Regions from separate parts of the Homo sapiens genome. Here region 2 is linked to region 1. Evidence: promoter capture Hi-C in human tissues and cell types (Jung and others, 2019). All regions are on one chromosome and are shown on one strand. Each heading gives the region's core, a stretch centred on a gene start or on the middle of the fragment in contact. The rest is flanking DNA. Distances are from core to core; before and after follow the strand shown. Region 1 holds the start of RCVRN (recoverin). Region 2 overlaps GAS7 (growth arrest specific 7).

What was found. Contacts are between HindIII fragments. The study calls those that stand out against the background at their distance.
Region 2: a contact is called between a fragment that was not itself captured here and the fragment with the promoter of RCVRN in region 1, in 3 of the 25 tissues and cell types used here (dorsolateral prefrontal cortex, spleen and thymus).

What each region holds. Positions count from the first base shown.
Region 1 is chr17:9,902,124-9,908,181 of GRCh38, reverse strand. RCVRN (recoverin) reads left to right here and starts at 2,911. Exons shown (of 3, transcript NM_002903.3): 1 at 2,911-3,382. The coding sequence starts at 3,002. The HindIII fragment of the contact is 14,018 bases long and covers 1-6,058 here.
Region 2 is chr17:10,171,883-10,177,972 of GRCh38, reverse strand. All of the region lies in intron 1 of GAS7 (growth arrest specific 7), which reads left to right. Among named protein-coding and RNA genes, the nearest start is that of GAS7, 24 kb to the left of the region's middle. RefSeq lists enhancers at 3,845-4,670, 5,498-6,090. The HindIII fragment of the contact is 9,101 bases long and covers 1-6,090 here.

The DNA of each region.
Region 1 (6,058 bases), core at 1,662-4,161:
AGGCTGGTGACATGCCTTTAGGAGGCCCCACTTCTCACTTGTAACACTGGCTTCGCCTCATCTGCTGCAGGCTTGATGTGGACAGGGGTGCGATCCAGGAGGCACTTCCAGTCGCCCCCTACTAGTGGCTCAGAGCAAGGGGCCGAGGCCTCTGACCTCACTCTCCCTCCATCCCCAGGGCTGCAAGGAAGCTCTGGAATGAATGCGATTCCAGGGTGTGGCTTGGGCTCCCGTTTGTTTTCAAGGCTAGTGACTGTCCTGTTTCTAACTGCTCTTGAGAATAAATGCACGCTACAGGATGGTGAAAGCCTAGGAGAGGAAGGACTCCTATTCAGAAGTAATATTCTCACTGGGCGCAGTGGCTCATGCCTGTAATCCCAGCACTTGGGGAGGCCAAAGCAGGCAGATCATGAGGTCAGGGGATCGAGACCGGCCTGACCAACAAGGTGAAATCCCATCTCTGCTAAAAACACAAAAATTAGCTGGGCATGGTGGTGAGCGCCTGTAATCCCAGCTACTTGGGAGGCTGAGGCAGGAAAATCGCTTGAACCTGGGAGGCAGAGGTTGCAGTGAGCCGAGATCGTGCCATTGCACTCCAGCCTGGGCGCAGAATGAGGCTCTGTCTTAAAAAAAAAAAAACAAAAAAAACAAACAAACAAAAAAAAAAAAACTCACAAAGTGATGGAAAAAAATTAGAAAGTTCACACACACACCCCAATATGCAGGTTTCCTGAGAAATCTCTGAAACTGTACTGGGCAGAGCGGCTGGGAGGGATGAGTCTGCCCCTTGGTGCCTGAACCTCTCGGTCCTTCCAGAGTGACATGAGGTGGGCCTGGCAGGTGGCTTTCTCCCAGCAGCAGGGACCTACCTTCTGCTGCCACTAGCCTGTTAGTAAGTAGGCTAAAATCCCCACTTTACACTTTGAGATGCAAGGCGGGCGGATCACCTGAGGTCAGGAGTTTACGAGACCAGCCTGACCAATATGGTGAAACCTCGACTCTACTAAAAATACCAAAAAAAAATTAGCTGGGCGTGGTGGCAGACACCTGTAGTCCCAGCTTCTCAGGGGACTGAGACAGGAGAATTGCTTGAAACCAGGAGGCGGAGGTTGCAGTGAGCCAAGATCGTGCCCAGCCTAAGTGACAGAGGGAGACTCCGTCTAAAAAAAAACCAGTTTACCTGCCTGGAGACCGTGGGGTTTATTCTTCATCATTCTCACCCCAGGGCAAAAAGAGACAACTCTCCATCCACGGTGGCAAGGCTGGGGTTCTGAGTGTGTCCCCTCGAGCACTGCGCTCCGCTAAGGAAAGTGCACGCCCACCCTCCCTTCCTTCTGGGTGACAAGAATCCAGGTGTGCAGCGTCCTCACTAGGTTGCTTCCTCGTGCTTGATACTCCCCGCTGAGCTGCACAGACGCGAAGCCTGCCTTTGCACAGCTCCGTCTCTGACCACTCAGTTATTTATCCATTCACTCAGCAAACACGTTTTCTTGCCTGCTCACTCCAAGTCCACTGCAGACGGACACCCTGCAGCCTGCCATGGACCCACAGATAGATTGTGTTTGGCCCACACCATGTTTTGTTTTGTTTTTGTTTTTGTTTTTGTTTTGTTTTTTTGAGATGGAGTCTCACACTTGTCACCCAGGCTGGAGTGCAATGGTGCAATCTCGGCTCACTGCAACCTCTGCCTCCCGGGTTCAAGCGATTCTCCAGCCTCAGCCTCCCAAGTAGCTGGGATTACAGTCACCTGCCACCATGCCCGGCTAATTTTTTGTATTTTTAGTAGAGACAGGGTTTCACCATGTTGGCCAGGCTGGTCTCGAACTCCTAACCTTGTAATCTCCCCACTCAGTCTCCCAAAGTGCTGGGATTACAGACGTGAGCCACCATTAAAATTTTGAATTAATTGCCAAAGTTGAAAAGTGTGGAAATTGCAAGAAAAATTCTGATTTTTGGATTTCTCTTGAATAATTTAAAAAAACCCAAAAATCTCACCATCCCATGTGACCACGTTCTCTGGCAGCCCCTTCCCGAGGTGACACAGGCCTGGCTGCCCCCTGCTGGTCCCTTCAGGCAGTTCACCTTCACTCCCTGTGACTGATGGACAATAACAAAACGAGTGTTTAGCATTAGCCATGTGCCAGTTTCTAAGTGTGTCAGACATATTGACTCACATCAGCCTCACAATGACAGTGTGGTAGATGCTATGATGCCCATTTATTCAAGAAAGACTTGCTGGGGGCCCAAGCCTATCAGGTTCTGGCAATGGAAATGCATCCGGGAACAACACAGACAAAATCCCATCCTTCACGGAGCTTTCATTCCGGTGAGGGGACATGCAGCGTGCCGATGATGGTGGGGGTTGTGCTATTATAGATAGAGGGTCAGTATAGGCCTGGCTGAGCAGGTGACATTTAAGCAGAGACATGACTGCAGTGAAGGTTTAGAAGAGTGTCCCAGGTGGAAAGAGGTGAAGAAACAAGCCTGGGGCCACACAGCTAGTTAAGTAGCCAAGCTGGGACTTGAACCCATGCTGGCCCCAGAGTCTGTGCTCCTAACCATTGCATTCTAGGGCTTGATATGAGATGCCAGCCCCGCCCCGAGATGCTCAGAGTTAGTGAGGAAGAGAAACAGGGAACATGGCTGCTGTTAGAGGGCTGGGGCTGGGGGTGCCGGAGGCCCCAGCTCTGAGGGTTCCAACCTCCTGTCCTGTTCTAGTATCGTCCCGGGAGGCCGAGATGAATTGCCTGCCTGCCCTGGGCTCTTTATTTTAATCTCACTAGGGTTCTGGGAGCACCCCCCCCCACCGCTCCCGCCCTCCACAAAGCTCCTGGGCCCCTCCTCCCTTCAAGGATTGCGAAGAACTGGTCGCAAATCCTCCTAAGCCACCAGCATCTCGGTCTTCAGCTCACACCAGCCTTGAGCCCAGCCTGCGGCCAGGGGACCACGCACGTCCCACCCACCCAGCGACTCCCCAGCCGCTGCCCACTCTTCCTCACTCATGGGGAACAGCAAAAGTGGGGCCCTGTCCAAGGAGATCCTGGAGGAGCTGCAGCTGAACACCAAGTTCTCGGAGGAGGAGCTGTGCTCCTGGTACCAGTCCTTCCTGAAGGACTGTCCCACCGGCCGCATCACCCAGCAGCAGTTCCAGAGCATCTACGCCAAGTTCTTCCCCGACACCGACCCCAAGGCCTACGCCCAGCATGTGTTCCGCAGCTTCGATTCCAACCTCGACGGCACCCTGGACTTCAAGGAGTACGTCATCGCCCTGCACATGACCACCGCGGGCAAGACCAACCAGAAGCTGGAGTGGGCCTTCTCCCTCTACGACGTGGACGGTAACGGGACCATCAGCAAGAATGAAGTGCTGGAGATCGTCATGGTCAGTCTCCCCTCTCCCCTTCTGGCTGGGCGGTGCCGGGGTCGCTCCGGGCTGGGGGTCCCCTGCTGCAGCTGCTGCAGAGGGAGTGGATCTGTGGGTGGAGCGGGGGATGCGGGCCACTGGCTCTGAGAGCGTGGTGCTCCGAGATGCTGATATTGATAGAGGGGTGGGCACTTGCCCACAGCTTCGTTGTCTTCCCGGAGCAGAATCTGAGTGTTTCCTAATACAGCCATGTTATGCTTGGCTTCACGATGTTTGGGTCAACAACGGACGATATAGACCACTGTGGTCCCATAAGATTGTAATGGAGCTGAAAAATTCCTACTGCCTAGTGACGTCATAGCACAGTTACTTTATTTTTCAAATGCATTTAGTGTAGCCTAAGTGTATCCGTAAAGTCTGTAGTTGTGTACGGTAATGTCCTAGTTCTTCACATTCACTCACTACTCACTCACTGACTCACCCAGAGCAACTCCCAGTCCTGCAAGCTCCACTCATGGTGAGTGCCCTAGACAGGTCTACCATTTTGTATCTTGGTTTTTTATTTTTTATTTTTTTGAGATGGAGTCTCACTCTGTAGCCCAGAGCTGGAGTGCAATAGTGCGATCTTGGCTCACTGCAACCTCTGCCTCCCGAGTTCAAGCAATTCTCCTGTCTCAGCCTCCCGAGTAGCTGGGATTACAGGTGTGCACCACTATGCCTAGCTAATTTTTGTATTTTTAGTAGAGACGGGGTTTCACCATGTTGGTCAGGCTGGTCTCAAACTCCCGACCTCCAGCGATCCGCCAGCCTCAGCCTCCCAAAGTGCTGGGATTTACAGGCATGAGCCACTGTGCCCGGCCCATTTTTTATCTTTATACTGTATTTTTACTGCATGATTTCTATGTTTAGCTATGTTTAGATGCACAAATACTTACCATCGTGTGACAACTGCCTGCAACATTCAGGACAGTCACGTGCTGCACAGGTTTGTAGCCTAGGAGCAAAAGGCTGGACCATGGAGCTCAGGGATGTAGTCGGCTCTACCATCTGTGTTCGTGCAAGGATGCTCTATGATGTTCCCACATAGAAGTTGCCTTAAGATGTGTTTCTCGGAATGTATTCCTGTCTCTGAGCGACACGTGACTATATTTACATTTTTTCTTTCTCTCCATCCTTTGTTTCTTCCTTCCTTTATTAAAATGTCCTTTGAAATTTTCAGCAGTACACATTCAAGTTGAATCACTGTTCATTCTAAACACACAATATGCTTCTAATATAAAGTAGAAAGAGGTCAAAGTTGGGGGCATGAACTCTGAGTTCTAGTCCTCATGTTCTCCCCAGCGCGGGGCGGATCATGGCACCACGCATGAGCCCCCGCTTCCCACGCGCGGCGTGGCTCCCCGGCTCCTGACAGTTTCCCTGTGAGGCGCACAGGCTTCCATATGGTTCCCAACACGCCTTCTCCCCTGTCCATACTGTCCTCCTGTCAGATCCTTTGTTGTGAAAGTAATGGCAAAAACCATAATTACTTTTCCACTAACCTCGTAGGTGTCTTGAAAATGGTTTATCTGATATAAAAGTAACTCATGAAATTTAGAAACCTAGGCAAAAGAGACTAACAATTGCCTCTAATTCCAACATCCAGGGAAAACTTTTCTTAGTATATCAGTATATACCTTTTCAGTCTTTTACCTATATAATTTTAAATAATGTTAAAGCTATGACATATTCACATACGATTTTTTATCATACATTTTTCAGTTACTCTTTTATCATGAGTGCTTTCCATATCATTACATATTCTTCCAAAACACTTTTTTTTTTTCTTCAGACAGAGTTTTGCTCTTGTCGCCCAGGCTGGAGTGCAGTGGCGTGATCTCAGCTCACTGCAACCTCCCCCTCCTGGGTTTGAGCAATTCTCCTGCCTCAGCCTCACGAGTAGCTGGGATTACAGGCACCTGCCCAGCTAATTTTTGTATTTTAGTAGAGACGGGGTTTCACCATGTTGGCCAGGCTGGTCTCGAACTCCTGACCTCAGGTGATCTGCCCGCCTCGGCCTCCCAAAGTGCTGGGATTACAGGCGTGAGCTTCCGCACCCAACCTCTTCCAAAACTCTTTTAATAGCTGCTTGGAATTCTGGCTTATGGAAATGTGGAAATTATTGAACATTCCTATGTTTTTGGACATTAGGTTGTTTCCATTTCTTTCCTATTATACCAGTTCTAATTTCCTTCATTTGATTTTTTTTTAATTTATTCTTTTTCAGTCCCCCTGCCCCTGCCACTTACCTTATTCTTCTAATTCCATTCCTGTTAGTAGAGACTATTGTTTAGATGTTAATAACTTTGTGTGCATTGGCAATCATGCTTTCATTTGCATGATGACAAATGCACAAAAATCTTCCACAGTTATTAGGAGAAATCATAAATAAAACAGCAGAGCATGCAGCTTGTGGTCCATGGGCTTATCCTCAATGCTCAGCTCGGGCCTCCCATTCTGGCAGGCATGTGTCTCTCTCATTGTTATCTTGGCACAGCCTGCAGAGAAAGCTCCCTCGGATTGGCTGTGGGGTCTCTGGGTGGCCTGGGACAGGGACTAAGTCTTCAGAGTGGCATAAACAATGCAGGGCCCAGCAGAAGCCTACAAATTGATACTCATTGAATAAAAGGAGGAGGAAAGGGAGGAGGGGGAAAT
Region 2 (6,090 bases), core at 563-3,062, 270 kb before region 1:
CCTAATGGCGCCAGTGCTGACCTAATGCGGCCGGTGTTCTGGTTTGTTTCTGAATTGCGTGTTGAGGTAGTTGGGGGGCTTTGTTACTCTGGGTGGCTGGTCTGCTTTATTATTAGTCTTGGGGAAATGATTTCTCTGAGAAGCAGTAGAAGGTGTAAATTATGCTTCACTGCAAATCATCAAGACTATATATATATTCAGCTACAGCTGCAAGTCTCTTGCAAATGAGGACTGATGTGAGATGCAGCCAAGTTGGAAAGGGTTACGGTGCAGACAGGCAGCTGACATGATTGATAATCATGCAGTCACCTGTACTTGGCTTTCTATGGCTTGTGGTCTGGGGAGAAGAGCAGCAGTCATGCTTAGAGGCTATACTCCATCTGAGAAGGCTGGAGGGCAGCAGTGAGAAGGTAACACCTCCATAGGAGCAGACACAGTCTCCATTAACCTGGTCCTTAGTAAATATCTCTTGGGTTTCCACCGAGCCAGGGACCCCACACATGGCGTCAGCAGCATCCTCTCCACACCTGATCTCCACTGGCTCCCCATTGCTTGAAGTGTCAAGACACTCCTCATCTGGACCTTGCACAAATATGGACCCTGTACAAACTGCACCTGGCCTCACTCCTTCTCCAGCCTCCTTACTTTCCCTCTCCTGGGGAGCGGGAAGCAACCTGACACCTCTGTGCCTTTGCTCGGCTGCAGCTTCTGTCTAGAGGCCCTTCTCATCCCTGTCGAGGGAATGATGATCTTTTATCAAGATCCAGCCCATGGACCCCTTCCTCTGTGTGGCCTTTGCTCTCCCCCAGGCAGAGTCCTTTCTTCTGCTGGCTTGCATGGGGATCTCCTGCTGGGATGGCACCAACCACATGGGACTGCGATGCCTTATTTATTTGACTGTTTCCTCCATTACACTCTGAGCTCTGCAGGGCCAGGAACGCCACTTCCTAAACTTTTGTAACTACTCTGGTCTGGCATGGTGCTTGGTGTCTCTGAAGTCTGGCTCAGTAAGTATTTGATGACTGGATGGGTGAATCAAAGAGGATAAAGGGAGAGCTTGCCTTAAGAACTGGGGACATCTTGTCTGATTTTGGCTCACGGCTTAACCAGCTTGGGGTCACGGACGGCCAAGGTTAGAAGGAGTATAGCCAGGTCATCTTGGAGTGCTGACTATTAAGGGAAGGCCACTGGCTCCTGGAGAACAAGGCCATTGAGCCCCAGGCCAGGACTCCCAGGATTGGCAAGTGAAAGGCAGCTGGATGCTTGGAGTGGTCCTCTCTCCTCATCTCCTTCTCAGTAGGGCTGCTGCAGGGACAGCTGGGTGTAGCTGAGGGCCCTGGGTTTTAACTACGGTACCTTCCAACACCCCTTCCACAGAGTTATTGGCTCTTTGGCCTTGCAATGTTCATGTAAGATCTCTGACCTTCAGTTTTTTCAGCTGTCAAAAGGGTGGTGACACCCATTCTGCTGCCCATTCAGGGTGACTAGAAGGATTTTGAGGATGACTGGAAGGATTTTGAAGGTGATGGTGGCTGTGTACGGGATTTGAAGTTTACGGGTGATGAATGCAAGCGGTGCTAAGAGACGCTGTGCAGGGAGGAGAGTGGGGGAGTCTCTCCCCAGCTCTTGCACCCAGCTGTCCCGACTCAACCAGGTGGCTTGGTCTAACCCCTCACCTCTCTGCTGTGGTCATCCTTTCTCCTCTGGCCTCTTTGAAGTTGCTTCTGAGGCCTCCTCCTAAGACCTCCTCCCTGTCCCTGCTATCCGATTAGGAAAGCTGTTGGAATTCTTGGCCCAGACAAGCTTTAATCATTTGCAGTAAGAGCTCTGTTGCCTCCTTCATCCTTCCCTGCCTTCAGTTAAGCCCCTCTAAGGCTCGAGGTGTGTTCTCAACCCTGGGATATAGCCGAGAATGAGATGGAGTGGACAGGACTCAGGGGTCCCTAGGATCAGAGGGTTCATTGTCCGTGGGGAACCAGACCGAGTGATAACGGGGATGTGCCCAGCACAGTGAGGGGCCCCAGGGGACAGTCAGGGCTGTGGGAGTGCTCAAGAATACCATGGGCTGAGTTTGGACCCACTCCCCACTCGTATTTGAAGTCCCAACCCCTAGTACCTCAGAATGTGACTGCATGTGGAGAAAGAGTCTTTAAAGAGGTAAGTTAAAATGCATGGCCAGCTGTAGTAGCTCATGCCTGTAATCCTAACCCTTTGGGAGGCCAAGACAGGAGGATCACTTAAGGCCAGGAGTTGAAGACAAGCCTGGGCAACATGGTGAGACCTTGGCTCTACAAAGTACAAATAAAAAGAAAAAGAATTTTTGACCACACTGTTGTAGGTCAAGGAAAATAACTAACTAACTAACTAACTAACTAAATAAAATGCGGTCATTAGGGTGGGCCCTCATCCTGTATGACTGGTGTCCTTTTAAGAAAGGGAAATGAGGACACAGATACACACAGAGGGAAAACCGTGTGAAGACATAGGGAGAAGACGGCTGTTTGTAAGCCAGTGGGGAGAAGCCTTACAAGCAACCTTGAGCTTGGATTCCCAGCTTCTAGAACTGTGAGGAAATAAATTTCAGTGGTTTAAGCCACCCAGTCTATGATTCTTTTTTGTGGCAGCCCCAGCAAACTCACACAAGCCCCTTACCCTGGGCTTGGGTAGGCAACTTATTTACATAGTTCCACATGGGATCAAAACCTTGAAAAAACATAGGGACCTAGGGACAGTTTGCTTGTCCCATTTTTCTTACTAACATGTATTCCTAGCTGAAGGGTTATATAGTTCACTTCTTTACCTTATTATCATTAGAATGTGAACTCCAGGCCGCGCGTGGTGGCTCGTGCCCATAATCCCAACACTTTGGGAGGCCGAGGCAGGAGCATCACTTGAGCCCAGGATTTCGAGACCAGCCTGGGCAACATAGTGAGACCCCCATCTCTATAGAAAATAAAAAATTAGCCAGGCGTGGTGGCATGCACGTGTGGTCCCAGCTACTCGGAAGTCTAATGTGGGAGTATCGCTTGAGTCCAGGAGGCCGAGGCTGCAGTGAGCTGTGATTGTGCCACTGCACTCCAGCCTGGGTGACAGAGTGAGACCCTGTCTCAGAGAAAGGAATGTGAGCTGCATGAGGGCAGAGCTGCATCAGGTCAAAGCCCGTGAAGGCACTGGCACGTGTCTTTTGGAAGAATTCTGTCTGAACCTGGGGCCTGAAGTCAAATTCCTCACTCTGGGCTTCAATCCAGAATTGTTTTTTATTTTTTTTAATTATTTTTTTTGATACGGAGTCTCGCTCTGCCGCCCAGGCTGGAGTGCAGTGGTGCGATCTCAGCTCACTGCAAGCTCCGCCTCCTGGGTTCACGCCATTCTCCTGCCTCGGCCTCCCGAGTAGCTGGGACTACAGGCGCCCGCCACTGCGCCCGGCTAATTTTTTGTATTTTTAGTAGAGACGGGGTTTCACCATGTTAGCCAGGATGGTCTCCATCTCCTGACCTCGTGATCCGCCCGTCTCGGCCTCCCAGAGTGCTGGGATTATAGATGTGAGCCACCGCGCCTGGCCAGAATTTTTAATTAAAATAGCTGGTTTTCTGCATCCAGGTCTCTGTTTAGTGCTCACCCTGCAAGGTGAGTTGCTGTTTGTTCTACAGACTGCATCCCCTATATCCCTCTAATCTCTACTCAGTCCCCAAATGTGATTAACATGTGTTAAAAATCAGAGAAGAAAGATTCCTTTATTAGCTTTTGTTTACACTGGGTGAATTGAGCCACAGACTATATTACACTAAGTCCTAGCAGCCTATGAGTTTGAACGTTGTCACCCTCCAGAGGGTTTGCTTAATGAGGCCAGGGATTCCATCATTAGTGTCCTGAAACGCCTATGACAGTGCCTGGCCCAGGGTTGGGCACTTACTCATGTTATTCACTTATTCATATGTGGGAATGAACAGTTCAGCCAGTATAAAGGACAGGTGAGTACACACCAAGGAGATCTTCAGGGAGAGATCAGCTGGTTTTCCTGTGAAGATGTCAGCTTCATCCCTCCACCGTCTCCCTGTGCTCATGGCTCTGTTCCCTTTCCAGGCTGCTGCTGCTGGTTCTTTGGGTCTGCAGCCACCTCCCACCCCCATGAAGGGCAAACCCAGCATTATGTTACCTCCTCAGTATAAAAGGAGAGAGGGTCTCTTTTTTTTTCTTTTTTTTTTGAGACGGAGTCTAGCTCTGTCCCCCAGGCTGCAGTGCAGTGGCACGATCTCGGCTCACTACAAGCTCCCCCTCCCGCATTCACGCCATTCTCTTGCCTCAGCCTCCCCAGTAGCTGGGACTACTGGCACCCGCTGCCACACCCGGCTAATTTTTTGTATTTTTAGTAGAGACGGGGTTTCACCGTGTTAGCCAGGATGGTCTTGATCTCCTGACCTTGTGATCCGCCCATCTCTGCCTACCAAAGTGCTGGAATTATAGGCGTGAGCCACCGCGCCTGGCCGAGAGAGGGTCTCTTTTTATACCTCAGAGCTCCTCGGGTCCCTGATTTCGGGAAACTCATTACTTACCTAGGAATCATTCCTCCTTCTCTTCATTTTTTTTCTCTCCCTCTTCCCCGCCTCCCCTTCTACTTTTAAAAAAAGTTGTGTTAAAATTCACATAACATGAAATTCACCATTTTAATGTTCAGTGGCATTTGGTACATTCACAGTGTTATACAGCCACCACCATTATCCAGTTCCAGAAGTTTCATCATCCCGAAAGTAACCCATACTCATTAAGCAGCCACTCCCCATTCTCCTCCCTTCGCCCGCCCCCAGCATCAGGCGACCACTCATCTGTTTTCTGGTTCTATGCATCTGCCTATTCTAGGTGTTTCACAGAAATGGAATCAGAATGGGTGGACTTCGTATTTGGTTTATTTCCGTTGACATGATGTCTTCAGGGTTCATTTGCGTAGTGACGTGTATCAGTACTTCATTGCTTTTCATGACTGAATAATACTCCATTGCATGGATATACCACATTTGTTTATCCATCCATCAGTTGATGGACACTTGGCTAGTTCCCATGTTTTGGCTGTTGTGAATAACACCATCCACTTCTTTTTCTGGTCTTCAGTTCTGCCTCCAGATGCTGAATCTTTAGTCTTTTGTTGAGACTGCATGGGTTACTGGCAATGGAAAAGGCACTTGAGAAATAAGAAGGTAGGCAGTGAGGGGCTCTGGCTACAAAGCGCTTCATTAAAGTCTGTCAAGCCTTAGTTTGCTCATTTCCTAAATGGGTGTAAAATTCCCTGCCTTGCTTACTCAGCCCTGCAGAATGTTGTAAGAGGCGCAAGCCACAGAATGTGAGGTTAAGCCCTTCCTAAGCTATAAAGTCAGATGTCAAGTGATAGTTCTGTATGTTCCTCATTTTTTCTTTGATTGTCTCCCTTTCTGTTTCTTTTTTTTTCTTCTTCTTTTTTTTTAATCTGCTTCCTCATTTCTCCTTTTGCTAATTGCTCCATTTGAATTCTGTTTTCCTTTCTTCTTTCCTCTGCTTTCAGCTGGCCTGGGGGCAAAGTTGAGAGCAATACAGAGTGTTATGCACAGTGCTGTGCTGGAGGTGAACAAGATGATTGGCTGCCCCCTGGGGAATCCTTGGGCAGGGCCGGACATGCGGCAGAGGAAGGAGGTTAGCTGCACTGGCTGGTGGGTGATGAGGTGAAGTCAACCAGGACTGGACCTGAGGAGTGGAATGAGGGCTGCCATGGCAGGCCATCCTATCTGGCTTAGATTTAGAGACTTCTTTTACACATAGCTTTGAGGTCTTTTGCAGTCCAGGAAGTAGCCAGATTGATGGGTAGTTAGGCAGATATTAGAATCCAAACAAGCAGACCCGAGGGACACTTAGGGGAAAGCAGCAGATGGAGGTGTATGCTTTTCTTAGTATGTTGCTTTTGCGAATGCTAGATCATCCGCTGTCCTGTGTGTGCTGTTTTCCCAGCTGAACTTGAAGCTTCTTGAAGACAAAAGTGATGACAGTCTTTTATTTTTGTGCTTGCTCCTGGTGCCCCTCAGAGAGTTCTGAACTTAAGTGGCATTTCCTGTGTGTGTTGAAACG